2 separate regions of the Homo sapiens genome follow, and region 2 is linked to region 1. The links are contacts of gene promoters, found by promoter capture Hi-C in human tissues and cell types (Jung and others, 2019). All regions are on one chromosome and are shown on one strand. Each heading gives the region's core, a stretch centred on a gene start or on the middle of the fragment in contact. The rest is flanking DNA. Distances are from core to core; before and after follow the strand shown. Region 1 holds the start of EIF3J (eukaryotic translation initiation factor 3 subunit J). Region 2 has its middle 77 kb from the start of TERB2.

The links. Contacts are between HindIII fragments. The study calls those that stand out against the background at their distance.
Region 2: a fragment that was not itself captured here is called in contact with the fragment with the promoter of EIF3J in region 1 in 1 of the 25 tissues and cell types used here (lymphoblastoid cells).

Annotation. Positions count from the first base shown.
Region 1 is chr15:44,533,583-44,540,968 of GRCh38, reverse strand. It overlaps EIF3J (eukaryotic translation initiation factor 3 subunit J), which reads right to left and starts at 3,822. Exons shown (of 8, transcript NM_003758.4): 1 at 3,732-3,822; 2 at 3,542-3,645. The coding sequence starts at 3,774. It overlaps EIF3J-DT (EIF3J divergent transcript), which reads left to right and starts at 4,046. Exons shown (of 2, transcript NR_034170.1): 1 at 4,046-4,926; 2 at 5,495-6,464. RefSeq lists silencers at 3,320-3,369, 3,390-3,699, 3,890-4,059 and enhancers at 4,230-4,679, 4,367-5,154. The HindIII fragment of the contact is 9,957 bases long and covers 1,048-7,386 here.
Region 2 is chr15:44,875,859-44,883,244 of GRCh38, reverse strand. It overlaps the pseudogene SORD2P. Among named protein-coding and RNA genes, the nearest start is that of TERB2, 77 kb to the left of the region's middle. The HindIII fragment of the contact is 3,597 bases long and covers 1,647-5,243 here.

The DNA.
Region 1 (7,386 bases), core at 2,573-5,072:
AAAATACTAAGTCTACTAAATGAGAGTAAAGTGCTGGAGCAAATTATAATAACAAAAACATCAGTTTTCCTTTCATTTCCCAGGACATTACAAATGACATTAAACCTGTATTTTTAAAGGTTAAGTACTAGATGCTGACATGAACAGAAGACCTCACGGAAACTAAGCCTTGTCTGCAACTCCTCATAAAAAGTACAAAAACATAAGAATTCAGAAATTTGGTGATATGGCTGAGTCTGCTGGCTCACGCCCATAATCCCAGCATTTTAGGAGGCTGAGGAGGATAGATCACTTGACTCCAAGAGTTCGAGACCAGCCTGGGCAACTTGGCGAAACTCTATCTCTACCAAAAACACAAAAATTAGCCAGTCTCACAAATCTGTCTCAAAATAAATAGGCCAGGTGCAGTGGCTCACACCTGTAATCTCAGCACTCTGGGAGGCCAAGGCGGGAAGATCGCTTTAACCTCAGGAGTTTGAGACCAGCCTGGGCAACTTGGCGAAACTCCACCTCTACCAAAAACACAAAAATTAGCCAGTCTCACAAATCCGTCTCAAAATAAATAGGTCAGGTGCAGTGGCTCACATCTGTAATCCCAGCACTCTGGGAGGCCGAGGCGGGAAGATCACTTTGACCTCAGGAGTTTGAGACCAGCCTAGGTAACATGGCGAAACCCTGTATCTACAAAAAAAAAAAAAAAATATATATATATATATATATATATATATATATAGCCAGGCGCGGTGGCTCACGTCTGTAATCCCAGCACTTTGGGAGGCCGAGGCGGGTGGATCACGAAGTCAGGAGTTCAAGACCGGCCTGGCCAAGATGGTGAAACCCCGTCTCTACTAAAAATACAAAAATTAGCTGGGTGTGGTGGTGGGCGCTTGTAATCCCAGCTACTCGGGAGGCTGAGGCAGAGAACTGCTTGAACCTGGGAGGCGGAGGTTGCAGTGAGCCAAGATCGTGCCACGGCACTCCAGCCTGGGTGACAGAGCAAGACTCTATCTCAAAAAAAAAAAAAAGAAAAAAATATGTAAATTAGCTGGGCACGGCGGTGCACACCTGTAATCCCAGCTACTAGAAAGGCTGAGGCTGGAGAATCACTTGAATCCGGGAGGCGGAGGTTGCAGAGATCGTGCCACTGCACTCCAGCCTGGGAAACGGGGTGAGACCTTCTCTCAAAAAATTAGATGAATAGATAGATTGCTTTAAGTTAAAAAAAAAAAAAAAAAAGAAAAAGAAATTTAGCACTAAAACAGCAACTGGGGCCGGGTGTGGTGGCTCACGCCTGTAATCCCAGCACTTTGGGAGGCCAAGGCGGGCAGATCACAAGGTCAGGAGATTGAGACCATCCTGGCTAACACGGTGAAACCCCGTCTCTACTAAAAATAGAAAAAATTAGCCGGGCGTGGTGGTGGGCACCTGTAGTCCTCGGGAGGCTGAGGCAGGAGAATGGAGTGAACCTGGGAGGCGGAGCTTGCAGTGAGCGGAGATTGTGCCACTGCACTCCAGCCTGGGTGACAGAGCGAGACTCCATTTCCAAAAAAAAAAGAGCAACTGGACAAGATAATCTTTGTGGTCCCTTACAACTTGTAAATATCCAAAACTTGTTCCAAGTGATCAGAATTATATTCATCAGAGGCTGGGTACGGTAGCTCACGCCTATAATTCCAGCACTTTGGGAGGCTAAGGCAGGAGAATCACCTGAGGTCAGAAGTTCAAGACCAGCCTGGGCAACATGGCGAAACCCCGTCTCTACTAAAAATACAAAATTAGCCAGGCGTGGTGGTGCGTGCCTGTAATCCCAGCTACTTGGGAGGCTGAAGCAGGAGAATCACTTGAACCCAGGAGGTGGAGGTTGCAGTGAGCCAAGATCGCGCCATTGCACTCCAGCCTGGGCAACAAGAGCGAAACTCCATCTCAAAAAAAAAAAAAAAAAGAATTATATTCATCAAGATCGATACCATTTAGATCCCTTAATCCCAAGGAAGTTATTCCATGACATTAGTCTAGACTATCCATTAAAACTTCATTTTCTGCAACTTCTTTCCTAATATCTCTAATCTTTTCTCTGCATTTGTTAATTTATTCCCAAATTTCATAACAGATGTCTTAACTGCCACTTCCTATATGCATGGAAAAAAATGAAAGGACCAATATGAACCCAAGGCTCAAAACTGAAAATCTGCTACAATGTAGAGGGGTAACTAATATCTTGTAATGCGGCTGGTAACAAAATCTAGTCCCATGTTTCTACAACATGTAAATAAAGCATCTGAGTGTCTTCAAACAATAACCAGTCGATTTATTAACTTCAATGTGTGCAAAGCTCACAACATTCTTGAACCTCAGGCTGTCAGTAAATCGGACATCCACACATCCAACCTCATCGGACTGGGGAGAGAACAGAAAAACTCAAAACAACATTCCTATTAAGTTCATAGTGATTATCTAGCTTAAACTTTTCAGCCCAGGCAGGATTTATAGGGTTCTCCGTTTGTGTTTATAAATTAGGAGAAATTCACTAAATTAGGCAAAACCACAAAAAAAAATCATTTTCCATTTCACACAAAACTTTATCTGCACAAATATAACAAGATTTTGAGAACTTTGTTAATAAGAGTCTTAACATTTTGGATTTGAGACTTCTGTAACTACTGTAAAAAAAAAAAAAAACCATGTAGAAGTAAATGTCACTTACAGCTGTATAATGAACCCTTCGGAGTTTTCAAAATCAAACGACTGAGGTAAAAATGATTATCTACAAGGCACAGACAAAACAACAACAACAACAAAAAACCACGGGCCCGTCATCTACAACCACCACCAAATCTTCAATATTTCCTTAGGTGTCGTATGTGTGTAGTTGAGTAACTGTCGTCTCTCCATTTCTCAGGTCACGGTGTGAACTACCTGGGTTTCTGTCCACTAACTGCGGGCTATCTCAGTGGTCAGTTCATTCTTTTTACCACAGGGTGGGGGAAGGGAGAGCCAAAAGTTATTTCCCTTTACTGTTTCTAGCTGTCTCGTGTGGGAAAAAAAGGTTGAAATTCAACTACAATATTTCACTCATCTAATCCCTCGAACAAACTGTATAAGTAGACCTCAGGGTCATAAATGAGTTACTGGCCCTGGGCTGACTTGAGCTCGAAAAGACAGGCGAGTCTCAAGGCTTTCCATATGGATAAGCTACAAGGCTCAATTCCCAACTTCCCGGTCTCATTCCTGCGAGAGGCTCCGGACCGCGAAGCTTGCACGTGGGCCGACCCGGCCGATGCTGTCACCTTTCGTCGCCAGCCGGCGGGTGGGATCCACGCCGGAGAGCAGACTCTCAACCGGCGAGGGAGTCCGGGAGGCCACGCTGCCAGTCTTCGGCCCACACATGGCCGGCAAGCGGAGGGGAAGAGAGCACCGCCAGGCCCTATGCTCGCGCCTGGACCCACGGCCCGCAGGCCCCGGCAGCGACCCGGGGCCCAGAGTCGGCCGGCAACAGCGCCAGCCCGCTTCCGCGCTGCCCGGCGCCCTAGCCCGCACCCACCTTGACGTCCTCGTCCTCGTCCTCGCCTTCCCAGCGGTCCCCGCCGGCAGTGCCGCCGCCCCCCACCTTCCGCACTGGGTCTTCCACGGAGAAAGCGTCGGCGTCTACGGAAGAAAGCGAGCCGTGTTAGTGCCTGCCACTGCGTGGGGCCGGCGCCGGCCCGGGCCCTGCCCCAGCAACTTCTCCTCACCCCAGGAGTCCGAGTCCCCCGCCGCCGCCGCCGCCGCCGCCATCTCGAGCCGGGTGTGAGCGTGTGTGAGAGGGAGAGCTAGCGAGGAGTTAGCACGGCGGAGGTGAGTCACTGGGTTTGCTCTCGTTGACCGGCGCGGAGCAGGATGGGACCGTGGCTGACTGTGCGCCGAGCCGAGGCCACGCCCCCTCAGGCGGCGGCGGCGACGCGCGCGGGTAAGAAGTGGGCGGGGAACGCGGTCGGTGGCGCTGCGGGGCTGAGGGAGAGGCGGAGGGGGGGGCGGAGGGGGGCGGAGGGAGGGGCGGAAAGAGCAGAGGGAGGGGCACAGGGGGCTGAGGAGTGCTGGGTCGGGCTTCCAGCTCCCTACAACGCAGACCAGTACTGGAGTTCGTGGTGCTGGAAGACCGCCGCCCGACTCTGGGCCCCGGGTAGGAAACGTAAGTGCCAGGAAGTTAGCAGAGTGGTTCTTTGGCTGGCGCCTGAACCTCGCCAGTCTTCGTCGCCCCTCCCCTGCCAACGCCTACCCCGCTTCGACCGGAGGGTGCGCTGTCCCTCTGGTCACTGTGATCACCGTCCATGGCCGCCTGCGGATACCCACGCCGTGCTCAGAAGAGGGCTCTGAGGCCACGCCCGCCTGTGGGGTCGGTGGCCGGGCTTCCGGGACCCCAGAGGGAGTCGTCGCGCGCTAGGTGGAGGGGACCCCTCTGGAATCCGGCGATCCCCGGGCGCAGATGCAGGAGCGGGTGGGGAGAGCCGCGTTCCTGGCATGTTTGCCTCGAGTTAGTCACGAAGGAATCGAAGAGAGCCTTAGTCTTCGAGGCTTTTCCCTTCCTGTGAGCCCCTTTGAGGCCAGCACATTGATTTTTTTTTCTTTCGCAGAACAATTTCGGACCTCCTGGGGTCTATGCTAGGTATGAGGTGTATCTTTGCCCTCCATCAAGTAGCAAAGATGGACATGTAAACAAATTTCGACACTGTGATGACTGCCACAAAAAGCAGCATTATGAGGTTGAATGTAAAAGGATAACCTTAGCGGCGGCGGGGGCCGGAGGATGAAGGAAGGCTTCCTGAGGTAGGCGCTGGTTGAAACTGAAGTTGGAGAGAGCAAGTGGCATTTGCTGAAGTGCATTTCCGGTAGAAAACTCCAGTGGTCCCTCACCTGACTGAGTGGCGCAGTCAGAGATAAATGGAACAGGTACACTGACCAGAAAGGGCAAGATGGGCTAAACTTCGCCGTTGGGCCACTGGGCTCCCCCGCAGGATTTTAAAGAGCTAGCCAGTAGATGGATTTTGTTTTTGTTATTTTCGCAATTTATTTTCAAATATGTAATACGCGAACTTGGTACAACATTCATGTGATAAAAAGGTAGATACGTGGGCAGGACGCGGTGGCTCACGCCTGTAATCCCAGCATTTTGGGAGGCCGAGATGGGCGGATCATTTGCTGTCAGGAGTTCGAGACCAGCCTGGCCAACATGGTAAAACCCCACCTCTACTAAAAATACAAAAATCACCTGGGCGTGGTGGCGGGCGCCTGTAATCCCCACTACTAGGGAGGCTGAGGCAGGAGAATCGCTTGAACCCGGGAGGCGGAGGTTGCAACAGTGAGCCGAGATCGCGCCACGGCTCTCCAGCCTGGGCGACAGTTAGACCCGTCTCAAAAAAAAAAAAAAAACAAAAAAGGTAGATACAACGATCAGCTGCTCCGCTCCGTTCTTTCTAGTGGTAACCATTGTTCCCCCTTTCTGGTGTTATCTTTTCAGAGTCTACAAATAAACATTTTATAAAGATGATCCTTCAATACATATTCTACAGCCCAGTTAAAATGTGAGAGGCCATGATCTACAGACAGCCATTTATAAAGGTGGATCAGGGCCGGACACGGTGGCTCAACGTCTGTAATCCCGGCACTGTGGGAGGCCAAAGCGGGAGGATCGCTTGAGCCCAGGAGTTCGAGACCAACCTGGCCAACATGGTGAGACCCCATCTTTACAAAAAAATATATATATCCAGGCATAGTGGTGTGCACCTGTGGTCCTGTGGTCCCAGCTACTCAGGAAGCTGAGGCAGTTGAGGCTGCAGTGAGCCACGTTCTGGCCACTACACTCCAGCCTGGGCATCAAAGTGACAAGACCAAAAAAAAAAAAAAATGTGGATTGGAAGGAGGCAAGAAAGAAGTCAGGAAAAGGGTGGAATGTAAGTCCCTAAGGACACAATCTTACTCACAATTGTATCTCCAACATTTGGCATAATGCCTAATACGTAAGTATTTTATGAATTAATTAAACGAGAACACAAGCCTAAATTAAGGCAATGGCAATGGAGAAGAAGAAACCAACTTGAGAAATATTTAAAGGTCATTGTCAATGGAACTTAGTGACTTTAATGGTTAATTTTATCTATCAACTTGGCTAGGCGATGCTACCCATGTTACTCAGTTTTTGGTCAAACACTAGTCTAGTTGTTGCTATGAATTGTATTTGTTAGATGTGATTAACATTTAAATCAGCAGACTTTGATTAAAGTACATTACCCTCTATAATGAGGGTGGGCCGCATCCGGTCAGTTCAAATTAAAACGAGACCCTTAAGAAGAAGCAATTCAGCCTCCAGACTGCAGCGTCAAATCTCCCTGGGTCTCCAGGCTGTTTGTCTGCCCTGCAGATTTCAGACTTGCCAGCTCCCAGAATAATGTGAGCCAATTCCTTAAAATAAATCTCTTTCTGCATATACACATCCTATTGATTCTGTTTCTCTGGAGAACCCGTACTAATATAGTGTCTGACTAGATATGAAGGAGGAGGGGAAGGGAGAAATAGATAGACGATGCCTTTGGATATTGAGTGACACTTATCTAGTTGCTTAAGTCAAAAACCTGAAAACTGGTTAGGCACGCCTATTACGGGCTCACGCCTGTAATCCCAGCACTTAGGGAGGCTGAGGCAGGCAGATCATTTGAAGTAATTCAAGACCAGCCTGGCCAACATGATGAAACCCCAAGACCACTAAAAATACAAAAATTAGCCGGGCGTGGTGGCACATGCCTGTAACCCCAGCTCCTCAGGAGGCTAAAGCAGGAAAATTGCTTGAACCCAGGAAACAGAGGTTGCAGTGAGCCGAGATTGTGCTACTCCACTCCAGCCTGGGAGAGACTCCATCTGAAAACAAACAACAAAAAAAAATGCTGGGCACAGTGGCTCACGCCTGTAATCCCAGCACTTTAGGAGGCTGAGGCGGGCGGATCACCTGAGGTCAGGAGTTCAAGACCAGCCTGGCCAATGTGGCAAACCCCATCTCTACTAAAAATAAAAAAAAAATTAGCTGGGCATGTTGGCGGGCACCGTAATACCAGCTACTCGGGAAGATGAGGCAGGAGAATCACTTGAACCGGGAGGCAGAAGTTGCAGTGAGCTAAGATCGCGCCATTGCACTTTAGCCTGGGCGACGAGCGAAACTCCCTCTCAAAAAAAAAGAAGAAGGCTGGGCGCGGTGGCTCATGCCTGTAATCCCAGCACTTTGGGAGGCCGAGGTGGGTGGATCACTTGAGGTCAGTAGTTCGAGACTAGCCTGGACATGGTGAAACCTGTCTCTACTAAAAATACAAAAATTAGCCAGGTATAGTGGCTCATGCCTATAATTCCAGCTACTTGGGAGGT
Region 2 (7,386 bases), core at 2,196-4,695, 340 kb before region 1:
TAACAGCCCTTCTCCAAAACAAACCTCCTTCTTGCCTGGGGACTAGACTGCCTTTGTAGGAGTAATGAATTAGCCACAAGAGTAGAAATTATGGTTTAGGAGTCACGCAGCTGGAGACTACAGGATTCTGACCCTCCCCAAATTGCTCCTGGGGATAACATCACTATTATAAAATGAAATGTTAGTGCTTTAGATATTTTGCAGACCCTGCACTTGATGGATCAGCTGGCACCACCCAGATTGATAAACTGGCTCATCTGATTTTGGGGCCCCTACCCAGGAACTGACTCAGCCCAAGAAGACAGCTTTGACCCCTTATGATCTCACCTCCGACCCAACTAGTCAGCACTCCTGACTCACTGGTTTTCCCCCACCCTCCAAATTATCATTAAAAACGCCGATCTCTGTATGCTTGAATGCTTGGGGAGACTGATTTGAGTAATAATAAAACTCCAGTCTCCCGCAAAGCTGGCTCTGCATGAGTTACTTTCTTTACTGCAGTTCCCCTGTCTGGATAAATTAACTTTGTCTAGGCAGCAGACAAGGTGAACCCATGGGCAGTTACAAATTTGGGGCTTGCTGGGGCTTGCCCTTGTGGCTGCCTGCCCGTGGTTTGGTAGACTCCCTCCAGCAACAGATCCAGAGGCCAGCCCAAGTGGCCACCTAGTTCTCTTGGACTCTAGGCTCTACTGGTGGGGTGCTGCTGATCCAATGGGCATGGATTTAATTGCAATACAGAAATAGTCCTGGGAGATATCCCATAACTGTAGCTCCATGCTGGAATGTTTGTCTGTAGCCCCATGGTGGGGTGTCTGTCTCCAGCTCCACCACTGGATGTCTGAGACTCTAGCCCTATCACTGGGTGTCTGTCTGTAGCCCATCACGTAGTGTCTGTAGCTGTAGCCCCATTATGGGGTATCTGATTTGGTGAGTATTCTAGGTGCTGCCAACAGCCCCTTCCTTCTCCTATTTGTCAGCCTCTCTGGACGTGCTGCTGTCTCTTGGTTGCCTTGCAGGATGTCTGTCTGTAGCCCCATCATGGTGTGTCTGTTTTTAGCCCCATCACGAGATGTCTACTGGTGGGGTATCTAATTGGATGGAGAATAGGGGGACTTGTTTGGAGGAATACTCTTGGTTTGTGACTGGGTCTGGAATCTGTGTCTCAAAGGCCTTCTGTCTGTCTTGTCTTTGTTGTGTGTGTGTTTGTATATGTTGAGGGGATCTCTGAGGGAATTGCTGATGGAAGTCCAGCAGGCCTAACTCAGAGAACCCTCCGTAAGTCAGGTTACATCTGGTGAGCCCTGAAGAAAGCTCAACAGGCCTGACATGGGGTGACTGTCCACTCTTCATCTTGCCCAGAGACCACCCATTTAATTACCGGTTGGAAGTCATCCCTCTCCACTTGGAGTGGATCAAAGACTATAGGAACCAACATGAGAAAATTTGAGCCTTGCCAGGTCAATATTGGGTGCTGAACGAGGTGACTAGTGTCTGTTTAGTTATGTGTATTTTGCTTCGGCTGGGATGGAAAATATTAATTCAGTTCCCCATGCAACCCGTCAGGCAGCATCTTGCAAAAGTGAGAAGCTTTTGCCTACGGTTCCATAAAACAGAAATGGATGATTTTCTTTTGTAACAGGGCTTGGCCCCCACAGCTATGGCACAGTAAGCAGATTCATCAAAAGCTGCTCCATTCTTCTGGAAGCTTCAGAGAAAGGGAACACAGAAATCTGGTATGCTGGTAAAAAGGGTAAGAATTTCTCACCAGCCGAGTTTCTGGTCTCTGTCTCTCTCTCTCCTCTCTCTCTCTCTGTGTGTGTATGTGTGTGTGTGTATTTGTATAAATGATAAACATCACTGTTTGTCTCCTCTGCAAGGGTTTGATTAGTAGAAGAAAGCATTTGTGAGACTAGTCTTAGGTGGTAGCAAATCTGGTGTACTTTGTGCTAAGAATTTGTCTTTCTGTGTTCTTCTGTAATGGAGAGAAGGGAATCACAGAATAGAATGTGGGTTTAAGACTCCTGTAAGCCCACTTTTCAAGCCATCCTGGCAGGCTGCTCAGTTACAAACTTTGCTGTGTGTCCCTGAAACCAATACTAGATGAAATTTATCTGTTTGTTTTGTGTCCTTAAGAGCCCAATCTTGTGACCATGTGGGGATACTTTCTCTTGGTCTCTGCCACCCAGAGGACAGGAATTTGGGGATTCATGTCATAGTTAACCCTAAAAGTTATCTTGAGCAGTTAAAAGCCTTTGCAAGCTCAAAATTGGCTGCTCTAGGCTTCTTCTAGGAAGAGCAATAGAAATTGCTCAATGCTGTAACTCAGTAGCTAAGGCCTTGTCTTTTGACAATGGCATCCCAGGTTCAATTCTTGGCTTAGGGAATGAGTCTTTTCTGGTTTATTTGTGTAACTTTTTGACCCTTATTGATTCTTTTTCCCCCATGGACCACTTTTGATTTCTCCTCTTGAGTTTTCCTTTGAACTACCTTGGGAAGATTCTAAATCTTGTTAAAAAAAAAAAAAAAGAAAGAAACTGATTACTCTCTCTTTGAATCACCATGTGTATCCATTATAACCTTATTTAAAACATTAATTTCACATGGGAAGTTACCTGTGGTGAAGTTCAAAAGCAAGGAACATTGACTGTCTGTGCTGGCTAGAGTCTAGTAATTAGATATTTAAAAAATAATTTTTTAAAGAGCTGTATGGTTAAAATCAGCTTCATTAAAAGCAGATATCCAAACTGTACATATATTTAAAATACCTTTACTTTTTTTTCTCTTCTTGGATCTTATTTTTCTAAAGAAAAAAAAGGTTTTTTCTTCTCAGTTGACTGAATTGTTTTTCTCCACTTTTGTCTTCTCAACACTCTTGATGCCCACATGAAAGAACCTAAGATAAATTCTAACAGCCTGGGACTCTTAGGGAAAAACAGAGGAGGTGCCACAGACCCCATTCTGGGAAAAAGCTCTGTTTTTCTCATGGAACCCTAGGAATTGAAAGAGAATAGATCCCTCTCAAAATCTAAGGCTGTATTCTGTTTTATATTACATTACCTGACATTTTTTACTTTGGCAGGTATCAAAAATTACTTTGCATTATTTGAGAGCTTTTAGTCTTGGTGTGTAATAACCAGGTAGGAAATATACTTTAAGGGATAACTAATAGCAGTTAAGAGGGATACTTGGCTCTTGGATTTTTGGATTAGAGAAGCATGCTCTTGGCCACCTGGAAGGTATGGAAATATCCCCACCCCGAACTGAGAGGAGACTCCCATGGAGGATGGGCTGATTTCAAAATGGGCTAATTGGCTTTGGGTTGCTTTGCAATGACATGCATGGTAGAAGTATTGCACTATCTTCTCCCATAGTATTTCCCTCTTTTGGGGGGATCCAGGATGCAGTATACAAATGGCACCCTTAATTTTGGGGATATGTTTTTGCCTTCTAGCTATGCCTTCTTATTGGGCCCTAGAAATGCCATGCTTTCCTGGTGCTGTTCCTCCAAGGGTGTCACCTTGAAGCCAGTAATCCAATTAAGAAACTAGCAAATGAAAAATCTTACAAGTACCAGATCTTCTGTCTGTCTGTCTATGTATATGTGTTGTATGCATGATGTTTGTATAAAAGAGCTCTAATTGGCTTAGAAAAATAAGCACTTAAATCAAGTATTTTGTCAGAAAAATAGAAACTTTTTAATGCCTGTTTGTTCACATAATTTCAGTGATCTTTTGGAAATAAAAACAGTTTTAAAGATCACTGGTAAATAAAAAATGTCTTCACAATTTAGATGTTTGGTCTAAATAAGGTCAGATGTTAGGTTTGCTAAATGCTTTAAAGTCATAAACTGTTTCTTTGACTTTCGAAAATTGTTAGACTTACCTACTTTGGAGCCATTAGAAATTCTAGCTAAGGTCTGGGGACATGTGGAATTAGCCATGCCCCCTAGCTATGCTGGAGGCAGACCTTATCTGCATTTCTGTCTGATGTCCTAGGCTCCACACTTAGTACATAATTAAAACCACTTATTTATCAGGGTTTTCATCAAAAACAAAAGTTGCTAAGTGTTAACGTTGTAACGTGTAATTGAGACTGCTGGAGAAATTGTTTTACATGCAAGATGTGTAAGGAAAGTAGAATGTGCTTTAGCTAAAGGATTAAATAAGGTAAGGGAATATGGCTTTTGTCAAAGGGAATGTAATTTTGTCTAGTTCAGAGGGCTTTAAAGATCGTCTTAACCTAAAAGAGTAACAGGACAAAACTGAAGGTTTAAGCAAGTTGAAAAGTGTTTGTGAAGGGTTGGTCTTAAGTTTTGAAGGGGATTATTTAATTTTTTTCTGTATGTTGAACATAAAAGCACACTAATGCCGGGCCAGAATCTGGGCCCCTGTGTCTAAACAAAAGGGTTTTCTTAGAAAATTAATCTGCTGTTTAATGGAAAATTGTAAAGTGTTCTAAAAAAGTTTATAAAAACCTTACCTTATGGTCAAACTAATTAAAACTGGATAATTTATAACATTTTATTTAAAAACTAGCTTTAGCATTAAAGAGGCATTAATGCAAACATGAAATTTGGTTTTCTCTTTTGAAAAAGATTTTTGTGTTATTGATATATGTTCCAAAATTATGTGAAACTCCTGTAATTCTGATATGACTTTGTATATGTTATCATTAATAATTATAATTGCTATGTTAAATTATTGTGTTCCCCAGAAGTAACAAATTTCCTTGTCAATTGTGTCTTTAACTGTGGCTGGCCTAAAACTTTTTGTCATCCACAGACAATTATTGTCTTTTGATCCTCTTTAAATGGTTTTATAATCAGCTATAACACTCTGACAGGTGCTCTTAAATGCAGGTTTCTGAAAACTTTGGAGATTGTGACATTAGAATAGAGGAAAAACTTTCAGGACTCTCATTGAGAGCTGAAATGTTCATGAATACTAAGCAGAATGGAAGTTAACTGCATGGGCTGAACTAATAGAAGACTGAGGCAACTTTTTTTGACTTTTTGTTTAAAACATTGCTGATCATTTTTTGTTTTTCAGAGCCAAGAAAACCTTTCTTTTGAGCTATTTACAGCTTTTAATATTGAGTAAAGTACACATCTGTAAACAAAATTTGGAGCATATTTGATTCTCTCTTCCTGATTTTGCCAGGATTTGGTAACTATTTGTGAGTATTCTTATGGCAATATAGTTACTTCCATAAGTGCAATAAGAATGTTTTCATTTGCAACAGGACAAAATTGAAGAAACTGGTTATTTTACCAAGGCTTTGACTGGAATCGTATGCTTGCCTTTAAGGAATAAAAGCCTCTTGAGGCCAGGCATGGTGGCTCATGCCTGCAATCCCAGCACTTTAGGAGACCGGGGCAGGCAGATAGCTTGAGCTCAGGAGCTCAAGACCAACCTGGGCAACTTGGTGAAACCCCGTCTCTACTTAAAATACAAAAATTATCTGGGTGTGGTGGCACATGCCTGTAGTTCCAGCGACTTGGGAGGCTGAGGTGGGAGGATTGCTTGAGCCTGGGGGATGGAGTTGCAGTGAGCAGAGATTGCATCACTGCACTCCAGTCTGGGTGACAGAGCAAGATCCTGTCTCAAAAACAAAACAAAACAGAGAAAACAAAGCCCCTTGGGAAAACTGGCCTCATGCCTTGTCTACACAGTCCCTGTACAGGGTTCCTGATCTGTGGTGAGTAAAGAATGTCACTTTCTAACAGGCCCAGGAGCCCCAAGTTATCTTGGGACCTCAAGAGGAGAGGAATTGACCCAACTCATGGTTATTTGAGGGTACAAACCCATGGGCTTGGCCTGGCTTTAAAAAAGTCTTGTTTGAGATTCCTTATGGAACAGAGTTCCATCAAAGCCAATTTAAAAAGCCTATGTGAACAATAATTATTGTTGCTGCACTTATGCAAGTAATCAGGCAGAGCATAATAAGACTAAAACTTATTTTGCAAGTAAAGTTGACCTACTGTGATTTATTTTTAATTAAAAAATGGGGACTGGAGACAGAAAAATTATGCTCCAAAAATAAAAAACAATCATTGTTAGTTGTTCTTGAGTTTTTTCTGCAGTTTGGACTAAATCCTAAATTATTCATGGACTACAAGTCTCCAAATTAATGTTTTCAAATCTTTACTTTTAAAAGTTGGAATTGCATGCCTTATGCTAGAACTCATTATTTACTTTGTAGTGTGCTGTTCCCTTAAATGCAATACTAAAATTATAGATGACAATACTAACACATTTTTCAGCCATCCTGCGTGAGTATGTTCAGACAGTAGCAAAATGATTCCAGTCCTCTCACCTTGGGGTCAACACCTACCCCGACTATGCCCCTGGTCAGCAGGAAGAAGTTAGAGTGGTCTTTGCCCTTTCTCCATCTTCATTAGCCAACACCTTAAGATTAAGGTGTTATAAAACCCAAAGGAAGGGATTGAAAACGCCATTGCAAAAACATAACTGAGACAGTAAAAGAGATCCAACCTAACCAAGTCCGTCTTGCTTCTAACCTCCAAGCTGTCCTTGTTCATTCCTGGGCAAAGTCTGAAATAACTTTGTGGGGAACTTAGTTTTTTTGTTTTCTGTTTTTTTGAGACAGAGTCTCACTCTGTTACCCAGGCTGGAGTGCGGTGGCATGATATTGGCTTACTGCAACCTCTGCCTTCTGGGTTCAAGAGATTCTCATGCCTCAGCCTCCCAAGTAGCTGGGATTACAGGTGCCCACCACCATGCCCGGCTAATTTTTGTATTTTTAGTAGAGACAGGGCTTTGCCACGTTGGCAAGGCTGGTCTCAAAATCCTGACCTCAGGTGATATGCCTGCCTTGGCCTCCCAAAGTGCTGGTGAGAGGTGGAGCCAGCTGGACTTCCTGGGCCAAATGGGGACTTAAAGAACTTTTCTATCTTACAAGAGGATTGTAAAATGCACCAATCAGTGCTCTGTAAAAAAACACCAATCAGCATTCTGTAGCTAGCAAGGGGATTGTAAAATGCCCCATCAGTGCTTTGTAAAATGCACCAATCAGCAGGATCCTCAAAGTAGCCAATCACAGGGAGGATTGAAAAAAGGGTTTCTGATAGGATAGAAATGGAACATAGGAGGGGACAAATAAGGGAATAAAAGCTGGCCACACCCAGCCAGCAGCAGCAAGCTGCTCGGATCCCCTTCCATGCTGTGGAGGCTTTGTTCTTTTGCTCTTCAAAATAAGCCTTGCTAGTGCTCATTCTTTGGGTTGGTGTCACCTTTAAGAGCTGTAACACTCACCGCAAAGGTCTGCAGCTTCATTCTTGAAGTCAGCAAGGCCATGAACCCACAGTCAACCAACTCTGGACATATTTTGGGGGCTCATCCAGGATAGCATCATGCAGTGAGTACC